Linked DNA regions of Homo sapiens: region 1 is linked to region 2. Evidence: promoter capture Hi-C in human tissues and cell types (Jung and others, 2019). All regions are on one chromosome and are shown on one strand. The core of a region is centred on a gene start or on the middle of the fragment in contact, and the rest is flanking DNA. Distances in the headings are between cores, read along the strand shown. Region 1 holds the start of HYLS1 (HYLS1 centriolar and ciliogenesis associated). Region 2 holds the start of VSIG2 (V-set and immunoglobulin domain containing 2).

Region 1 (4,727 bases), core at 5-2,504, 1.1 Mb before region 2:
GGATTGCTAAAAACATGTACATACTATGTTTGCATTCTTGTCCGATTTATGTCCTTGGAATAAACTCCTGGAATTGGATTATGACTTAGAAGTTATGGTACTACTTGAATTCTGATTTATGTTTTTCTTTTCTCTTTTTTTTTTTTTTTTTTGAGACAAGAGTCTTGCTCGGTCGCCCAGGCTGGAGTGCAGTGGCGCGATCTCGGCTCACTGCAACCTCTCCCTCCCGGGTTCAAGAGATTCTCCTGTCTCGGCCTCCCGAGGAGCTGGGACTACAGGCGCCCGCCACCAAGCCCGGCCAATTTTTGTATTTTTAGTAGAGACGGGGTTTCACCGTATTGGTCGGGCTGGTCTCGAACTCCTGACCTCACGTGATCCGCCCACCTCGGCCTCCCAAAGTGCTGGGGTAACAGGCGTGAGCCACCGCGCCCGGCCTGAATTCTGATTTATAATGCCAAACTGCCCTCTAGAAAAACAGATTATCCCCAGCACACAGGCCATAAAGGTGCTTGCTTTCATTTCTTCACTCTCTCAGCAGCATGGGGTACTGAAAAATCTTACCAATCTAAAAAGATATCTTAATGTTTTTCTTTGCCTGCTTAGTGAGATTGTATACTGTTTAGAATAAAAAAGATTTATTTCCATTTCGGGGTGGACAAACACCTTGGACGGTTCCATGCTGCAGTCCACAAAAGGTGCAGCTAGAAGGCGACAAGACACGCTCCGCCTTTCAACGGCAAAGCTCGCAGTCGCCCCGCCTGGCCGTGGGCGTGGCTTGGACCCAGGTCGCTAGCGGCCTTCGGGACTCCCCTCCAGCCCTGGGGCCGTCCCCGGCCTCCGCCTGGTCCCAGGGGCGCGGCCCAGGAGCTCAGAAAGGCCACCGGGGCAAAGACCGCGGCGGCGGCCAGCGCACACCGTGACCTCCAGGGGCTGCGGCCCGCCGCGCACATCGCCTGTAGCTCACGCTGCCCCGGCCGCCTCCCTCAGGAACGCAGACGTTGGGGACGGCTCGCCAGGCAGGACCTGGAATCCACGGAGGGAAGCTGCCACTCTGCACCGTCCCGACGGTGGGAAAAGGAGCGAGGGCTCCCGCCGCAGTGGGCCGGCAGCCACCAGGTCCCCGCGTCCCTCCGCTTCCGGCCTTCGCCCGGCTTACCCGCGTCGCGGAAGTCCGCTCTCTGCACCGCGTCCTGCCAGTCGCCAGCAGAGCACCGCAGATTCTGTTAGCTTTCGCGTAACTTGCGCAGGCGCACTGCCGGCCCACGCGCCGAGCCTGCGGTTAACCGCCGACCGCTGAGGTTTAAATCCGGAGAGCGAACCGGCACCCTTGGCCCGGTCCGCCCTCCCTCTTATTGGTCCTGAGGGTAAACGTCCTCCAAGTCTGTATCCTGATTGGCGCACATTTTGTCTGGGCCTTCTCCGCCGGCGGGAGCATGCCCGGGATTTCCAATGTGGCCTTAAAAATATCCGAGCCCGCCTAGCTGAGGCGCGCAGGCAGCAGCCGTTGCTGCGACGCCTCTGGTGTACTAAATCTGGAGGGGAGGTTGGGCCCTCGAAGAGAAGGAGAAGACCCTCAAACCTTGGCTAACGGCGACATAGCTGGCTTTTTGGAGAGGCCGCCTAACGGTCTGCCACTTCATTGGAATCAGCCTCCGCCCTTCTCAACTGGCTGCTGCGGGGCCAGTGGTGCCGGGAGACGAGGGCGGGCGCTCAGGGACGGTTCGAACAGTCTGGGGTGAGTCCGCCTGTGCGCTCTAGACGTTTCCTTGGGGCCTGAGAGAGCGGCTGTATGAAACCCTGGCGCACTGAGCTCTTCCTTTCCTCTGCATGGTGTGCAGGGCCCTGGCGTGACCCGTGGCTGCGTCTCCACAGCTCCTCCCACGTTACTCTAACTGTGCTCCAGCCACCGACTGCCTTGCTCCGACATGCACTTGTTTTCTTTTGGAATGTGCCTGTCTCCTTCACATGGTGTTACTCTCAACTTTTTTTTTTTTTTTTTTTTGAGACGGAGTTTCCCTCTTGTTGCCCAGTTGCCCAGGCTGGAGAGTAGTGGCGCGATCTCAGCTCTCTGTAACCTCTGCCTCCCAGGTTCAAGCGATTCTCCTGCCTCAGCCTCCCGAGCAGCTGGGATTACGGGCGAGCACCACCATGCCCGGCTAATTTTGTATTTTTAGTAGAGATGGGGTTTCACCATGTTAGTCAGGTGATTCTACCCCCTCGGCCTCCCAAAGCTCTGGGATTACAGTTGTGAGCCTCTGTGCCCAGCCACTAATTTTTTTTTTAAACCCGATGTTTTAACTCTTTTTGCATCTGTACCTGTAAAAAAAAAAAAAAAAAAAAAAAAAAAAATCTAGTGCTTGGGGATTGCTGAGGATGAGATCTGTAAAAGCAAGAGGAGAGGCCCTCAGGGTTCAATATCCTAGTCAATACCAAGCAAACCTATCTCAACTGGTCTTGAGTCCTGAGCATTGCATTTTCCACCTTAAACAAATAGGTGCTAGTTGTCAAGTTCATCTTACACCATTTCTTAAATCCAGGATTCAGTGGGAGGGGAGAAATGTTTAATCCTTTTCCTCCAAACACTTCGTATTATCTCTTACTCTCCCTCTTTGCCTCAGGGCCTTTGTGCTACCTCTAAGGCACTTTGAATTTGTGGGAGGAAGAAAATGGAAAGAACAAAGGAGGGAAGATGACAGAAGTAGGTTGTGGAGATTTGAGTGACTGCCCCTACATCTGCAATATCATAACACTCCTTTAGTGCAGCGGTCCCAACCTTTTTGGCACTAGAGACAGGTTTCATGGAAGACAATTTTTCCATGGCTCAGAGAGGGGGTATGGTTTTGGGATGATTCAAGCGCATTACATTTATTGTGCACTTTATTTCTATTATTATATTGTAACATATAATGAAATAATTATGCAACTCACTGTAATGTAGAATCAGTGGGAGCCCTGAGCTTGTTTTTCTGCAACTAGATGGTCCCATCTGGGGGTGATGGGAGACAGTGACAGATCATCAGGCATTAGATTCTCATAAGGAGCATGCAACCTAGATCCCTGGCTTGCGCAGTTCACAATAGGGTTCACGCTCTTGTGAGACTCTAACACCCCTGTTCATGCGACGGAAGGCAGAGCTCAGGCAGTAATGCCAGATGGGGAGTGGCTGTAGAAACAGATGAAGCTCCTACGGCTTACCCCCTGCCTTGCGGCCTGGTTCCTAGGTGCCTGTCCGTGGCCTGGGGGTTGGGGACCTTTGTTTTAGTGCATATATTCTTTTCTTTCCATAGGAGCAAATTTAATATGCTCAGGTTTTATCTTATGCCAGCATGACTTTTTCTTTGGCTTTGAATCTCCAATCTGTCTTAGAAACCAAAGAGTAGATGGAATCATTTTTCTTCCAGCTTTGAACATCAGCATTCTCCTTATGGATCCCCCAGTTCGTTTCTTTTTCTTTTTTTTTTAATTTTTTTTGAGACAGAGTCTCTCTCTGTAGCCCAGGCTGGGGTGCAGTGGCACGATCTTGGCTCACTGCAACCTCCACCTCCCAGGTTCAAATGATTTTCATGCCTCAGTCTCCTGAGTAGCTGGGACTACAGGCGTGTGCCACCACACCCAGCTAATTTTTGTATTTTTAGTAGAGACAGGGTTTCATCATATTGGCCAGGCTAGTCTTGAACTCTGACCTCAAGCGATCCGCCAGCCTCCACCTCCCAAAGTGCTGGGATTTCCAGCGTGAGCCACTGTGTGCAGCCCCAATTAGTTTCTGTTATCCTTTTTATTAAATTTTGATCTTTGAAAACGTTTAATACATAGCAGCTTGAAGGATCTACTCCTGAATATTTCATATTGCAAGTGGTATCTTGTGTTCTACCCAACCCTGGTTTTTTTGTGGATTGCTTAGTCCTCCAATTTTTCTTAGATCTGATTTAATAATGCTTGTGGTTCCCAGAAATCTACTGAACCCCGGTCAAACCTTAAACAAGAAACTTTAACCATGACCACTTAAAATACAGTATATAGAGAAAAATCCTACTCTGCAAACCAAATCTCATCTTAAAAATTTGTTATGGAAAATTTCAAACAAATGTTAAAAAACCATACATAATGAAGCCCAGTGAACTCAATACCAGATTCAGCAATGATTAACTTATGACCAGTCTTGTTGCTTCTATATCACCACATACCTTGTCTTGTATTATTTTGAAGCAAATACTGAGTATCTGAAATCTAAATATTTCAGTATGATCTCTGAAAAATTAAAGGACCTTTTAAAAGCATAACATAATACTATTTTTGTTTGTTTGTTTGTTTTTGAGACGGAGTCTCACTCTTTCACCCAGGCCGGACTGCAGTGGCGCTATCTCAGCTCACTGCAAGCTCCACCTCCCGGGTTCATGCTATTCTCCTGCCTCAGCCTCCGGAGTAGCTGGGACTACAGGCACCCGCCACCGCACCCGGCTAATTTTTTGTATTTTTAGTAGAGACAGGGTTTCACCATGTTAGCCAGGATGGTCTCGATCTCCTGACCTTGTGACCCGCCCACCTCGGCCTCCCAAAGTGCTGGGACTACAGGCACCCGCCACCGCGCCCGGCCAACATAATACTATTATCACACCTAAAGTAGTTAATATATTTTCTTACTATCATCAGATATCCAGAGTTCAATTTTCTACTTGTCTTTCTTTTTTTAAAGTTTGCTTAACTGGGTCAGGATCCAGTCAAATCCA
Region 2 (4,490 bases), core at 47-2,546:
CTCCTGACCCTTAGTACTCTGCCCCCACCTCTCTTTACTGTGGGAAAACCATCTCAGTAAGACCTAAGTGTCCAGGAGACAGAAGGAGAAGAGGAAGTGGATCTGGAATTGGGAGGAGCCTCCACCCACCCCTGACTCCTCCTTATGAAGCCAGCTGCTGAAATTAGCTACTCACCAAGAGTGAGGGGCAGAGACTTCCAGTCACTGAGTCTCCCAGGCCCCCTTGATCTGTACCCCACCCCTATCTAACACCACCCTTGGCTCCCACTCCAGCTCCCTGTATTGATATAACCTGTCAGGCTGGCTTGGTTAGGTTTTACTGGGGCAGAGGATAGGGAATCTCTTATTAAAACTAACATGAAATATGTGTTGTTTTCATTTGCAAATTTAAATAAAGATACATAATGTTTGTATGAGATAAGAAACAAGTTGCCTTTTCAAACTAAGAATTCTTGAAATTGAGCTTCAGGAGGATGCAAAGTGGACCCCTTCCCAAGCTGTGTACCCAGGAGGGCTTCCCCCCACAGGCTTAGAGCAGCTCTTCTAGTGTTTAGAAGGGTCCTTGTTTGTCACGTGGAGAAGGGGAGGAGACTCTAAGCTACTCTGAACAGCAGAGGGATGGAGTTGATACGCTTTCTGCTGGAGCTTGAGTGCTCCCGGCTAGGGGGTACGTGTACCTCATCTGCTTCCTCTTCAGGGACAGGGGAGAGGAAGCTCACGTGGGCTCCTCTCCCACACCACGGAATCCTTAACAAAACACTCCTTGCCCATCTGGAAGAGATCTCTGTTGTTACTGAGGGAGAGCTGGGCATAGTATGAGGTGCAGGTCTGTGTCCAAGTTCTGCCATGTTCTTTCCTACCAAGGGTGAGGTCTCCTTTAGGTCTCAGTTTCTCTGCCCCTAAAATGGAGTGGCTCTGGAAATGGAGAGATGCTCATTTCTACAGAGACTCCTACCTCAGTAAGTGGTGAAATGAAAAGCGCTGTGGACAGGAAGGGTCTGCGGCCTGGGGCTCACACTCACAGTGAGGCTCCGAGGTGGGGACTCCCCTTGCCAGCTCTGGGGTATCAGGACGCCTTCCAAAGTCAGCTTTCCTTCCGTCTCTGCAGAAGGCCCACCCCAAGCCCAGCGCTTTTCCCAAGGCCGGACAGCTTCAGACCTTGGGGAGAAGAGGAAGGAAGGAGGAAGAAGGGACAGAGGGATTGCAGAATCGGGGCTGGAGGAGAGGAGGGAGGAGCACTTTTTTTTTTTTTTAACCTGCGGCGCCGGCCTCTCCCCTGTTTGCTCTGAGATACCAGTCTCGCTCCTGCCCAGCCCGGGCGGCTGCCCTTGGGTGCTCCCTTCCCTGCCCGACACCCAGACCGACCTTGACCGCCCACCTGGCAGGAGCAGGACAGGACGGCCGGACGCGGCCATGGCCGAGCTCCCGGGGCCCTTTCTCTGCGGGGCCCTGCTAGGCTTCCTGTGCCTGAGTGGTGAGGAGGGGCCGGGCGGGACCACGGCGAGGGCTGGGGGGCATAGGCCTGGCTTCCCCGGCTCCTCGGACCCACTCTGTCCCCGCCAGGCCAGATGAGGCTGCCGTGGGCGCCAGGGGCCCTAAGGCGCCTGAGGTGAGGCCGGAGAGGGGGTGTCCAAGGCCCGGAGGGCGTAGGAGAGAGACCCCCAAGCCGGCGAGCGAGTTGGGCCTCTCCGCGGCACAGGCCTGAACCACCCCACCGCAGGGCTAGTGTTTTCCTTTCTCTGCTAAACACACACACCCTCTTACCTGGCCCGGTTCCGGCTCTTTTACCCACAAAGACCCGGCCCCTCCCGGAAACCTCAGGTTTTGGGAAGGGAGGGGTTGGATTGAGGGGAGAGGGTTGTGCTCTGGGGAGGGAGCCCCCAGCTTCCAATATAGATGCCCGGGGGTGGGCCCGACCCTCCAGATCACTGGAATTTGGGTTCCCACCTCCCTCTGGTCCCCGGCCCCAGGGCTGGCCGTGGAGGTGAAGGTACCCACAGAGCCGCTGAGCACGCCCCTGGGGAAGACAGCCGAGCTGACCTGCACCTACAGCACGTCGGTGGGAGACAGCTTCGCCCTGGAGTGGAGCTTTGTGCAGCCTGGGAAACCCATCTCTGAGTCCCATCCAGTGAGCTGAGAGCGACTGCATGAAGCTGGGTTGGCCTGGAGGGACAGGAGCCCAGGATGAGGGCATGGGGTCGGGAGGGGGAGTTTGGGGATCAGTATGCTTGGATGAAAAGGTAAGTGGGCTCTCCCTAGATCTTTTCAGAGCTGCAGTCTGCCTGACCGTGTATCTTCCTTTCCTCTTCCATAGCTCCTATTTCCAACTCCCCTGCCTTAGTGTATCCATTGACACTAAGGTGTTGTGACTGATACCAAGATAATATGCTGCCTCTTCTGCCTCTCTCTTTGAGAGAGAGAGAGAGAGACCAATGGATCAGGTTCATTTAGCACCTGAAAGGGGGTGGTGTTTGGGGACAGAGAGACCTTTGGAGTTCCAGCTTAAGGGTATCAGCCTCCCTGGCTGATGTAAGTCAGAGGCCTCTTATACCCACTTTGATGAGGAAGGACTGTAGAGTTGATGCCAGGCAGAAACAGGCACATATGTGTGTCTTCTGCCTCTCCCCAGATCCTGTACTTCACCAATGGCCATCTGTATCCAACTGGTTCTAAGTCAAAGCGGGTCAGCCTGCTTCAGAACCCCCCCACAGTGGGGGTGGCCACACTGAAACTGACTGACGTCCACCCCTCAGATACTGGAACCTACCTCTGCCAAGTCAACAACCCACCAGATTTCTACACCAATGGGTTGGGGCTAATCAACCTTACTGTGCTGGGTAAGGCAGACTGGGGATCCACGAGCCACATACTCTTTCACATACTTGGGGCGTTTGCACTGGTCTTGCTAAATCTCTGGTTTCTGACTTTTAGCCCAAGCACACAACTGCACTGGGGGCCCCAAGTGAAAATACTCCCTTTCCAAGTCTTCTAATTCAGATGGTCATACTCCAACTCCACCCTCCACCGAGAGCATCTCCTCCATCAGAGCCTAATAACAGAGTGTGTGAGAGAAAGTCCTTCCCATACATGGGGATCTGAGCCTGCTCCCAGCAGCTCCATCATGGGGGAGGCTCTCATCGGTAGTTGGATTCTGTCCCTCCCAAGGTCAATGGCAGAGAAGGGGAGTGGCCACCAAAGGAACAAGGGCCCCTATTACTGAGCACCAACTTCGTGCTCAGAGCTTCTGTCTCACCCCAAACTAGAGCCTTTTCAGAGATGAGCAACCAGAAAAACTATCACAGAGACTGGCAGTGTTTAGATGGAAAAGAGAAGGCCTCGGATGGGTGTATTACTGCTGGATTCAACTATCCAAAGGGCTGTCATGTGGAGGAGAGATTTTAATTTCTCTTTGTGGGCCCAAAGGGCAGGAACTGAAACCAATGGGTGGAGGTTATGTTAACACACATTTTGGCTCAACATGAAGAAGAATTTTCTCTAACAATCAGAATTTCCAATAGTGGAAATCCCTCAGTTCCTGGGGATGCAGTGGTGTGTGGACCCAAGAGGACCACTGTTTGATAGGGGTATTGAAGTAGAGAATGTAGCACCTAATGGAGTTGGGAGTGGGGCTGGAAGATTGCTGAGGAACTTTCTGTTTTTTTTTTTTTTTTTTTTTTTTTGCAGTTCCCCCCAGTAATCCCTTATGCAGTCAGAGTGGACAAACCTCTGTGGGAGGCTCTACTGCACTGAGATGCAGCTCTTCCGAGGGGGCTCCTAAGCCAGTGTACAACTGGGTGCGTCTTGGAACTTTTCCTACACCTTCTCCTGGCAGCATGGTTCAAGGTAAGGGCCCAGGGCATCAGGAAGAGGGTACTGGAGACCTGGGCAAATCTGGTCTCTAAATCCCACACACCCGTATTATCCGTTCCATGACTAGGGGTATGACACAAACCACTATACCTTTCCCTGTCTCTTCCTTGGCTTCCTGTATTGTTCCCTCCTGCCTGTCTTTCTGCAGTCTGTGGCTGCATGATCCTGGGGGTATTTCTCAAGCTGAATATACTGCTGATATCCTGGAAGAGAGTAGAGGGCAGGGAGCAATCTGATGATGACCACCCATCTGCCTTGGGGAGATTTCTTTTAGGTTTCCTAAGGGTCGTGGACCACTTCCAAACTTCCTAGAGAGGAAACTGAGGCAGAGTAGCATGGACTGGCTGGAATCTTTTAACCAGTTTCTTTGGAGGAGCCTTAGTTTCTTGGCTTCCTCTTCCTGGATCCAGTTCTCTCTCCAGCCCCAGCAAACTCCTTTATCAATCCAGAAATGAATGACCCACCCCCAGATCACCTTCCTGGTATGTGCTCTGCCTTCTAAGGCAAAGGTAAACAGTTTAGAAAAGCATTTGTGTCAGCTTAGAGCCACCCTACAGGATGCAGTTTCTAGCAATCAAGCCTTTTACCCCAAACCAGGAACCTGACATCAGCCAGTAAGC

The links. Contacts are between HindIII fragments. The study calls those that stand out against the background at their distance.
Region 1: a contact is called between the fragment with the promoter of HYLS1 here and the fragment with the promoter of VSIG2 in region 2, in 1 of the 25 tissues and cell types used here (small bowel).

Annotation. Positions count from the first base shown.
Region 1 is chr11:125,884,195-125,888,921 of GRCh38, reverse strand. It overlaps HYLS1 (HYLS1 centriolar and ciliogenesis associated), which reads right to left and starts at 1,254. Exons shown (of 3, transcript NM_001134793.2): 1 at 1,157-1,254. RefSeq lists silencers at 677-1,066, 1,167-1,216, 1,307-1,356 and an enhancer at 1,497-1,546. The HindIII fragment of the contact is 15,201 bases long and covers 1-4,727 here.
Region 2 is chr11:124,749,061-124,753,550 of GRCh38, reverse strand. VSIG2 (V-set and immunoglobulin domain containing 2) reads left to right here and starts at 1,296. Exons shown (of 7, transcript NM_014312.5): 1 at 1,296-1,474; 2 at 1,971-2,128; 3 at 2,630-2,837; 4 at 3,685-3,843. The coding sequence starts at 1,414. It overlaps ESAM (endothelial cell adhesion molecule), which reads left to right. Exons shown (of 7, transcript NM_138961.3): 7 at 1-425. RefSeq lists an enhancer at 1,537-2,098. The HindIII fragment of the contact is 14,367 bases long and covers 1-4,490 here.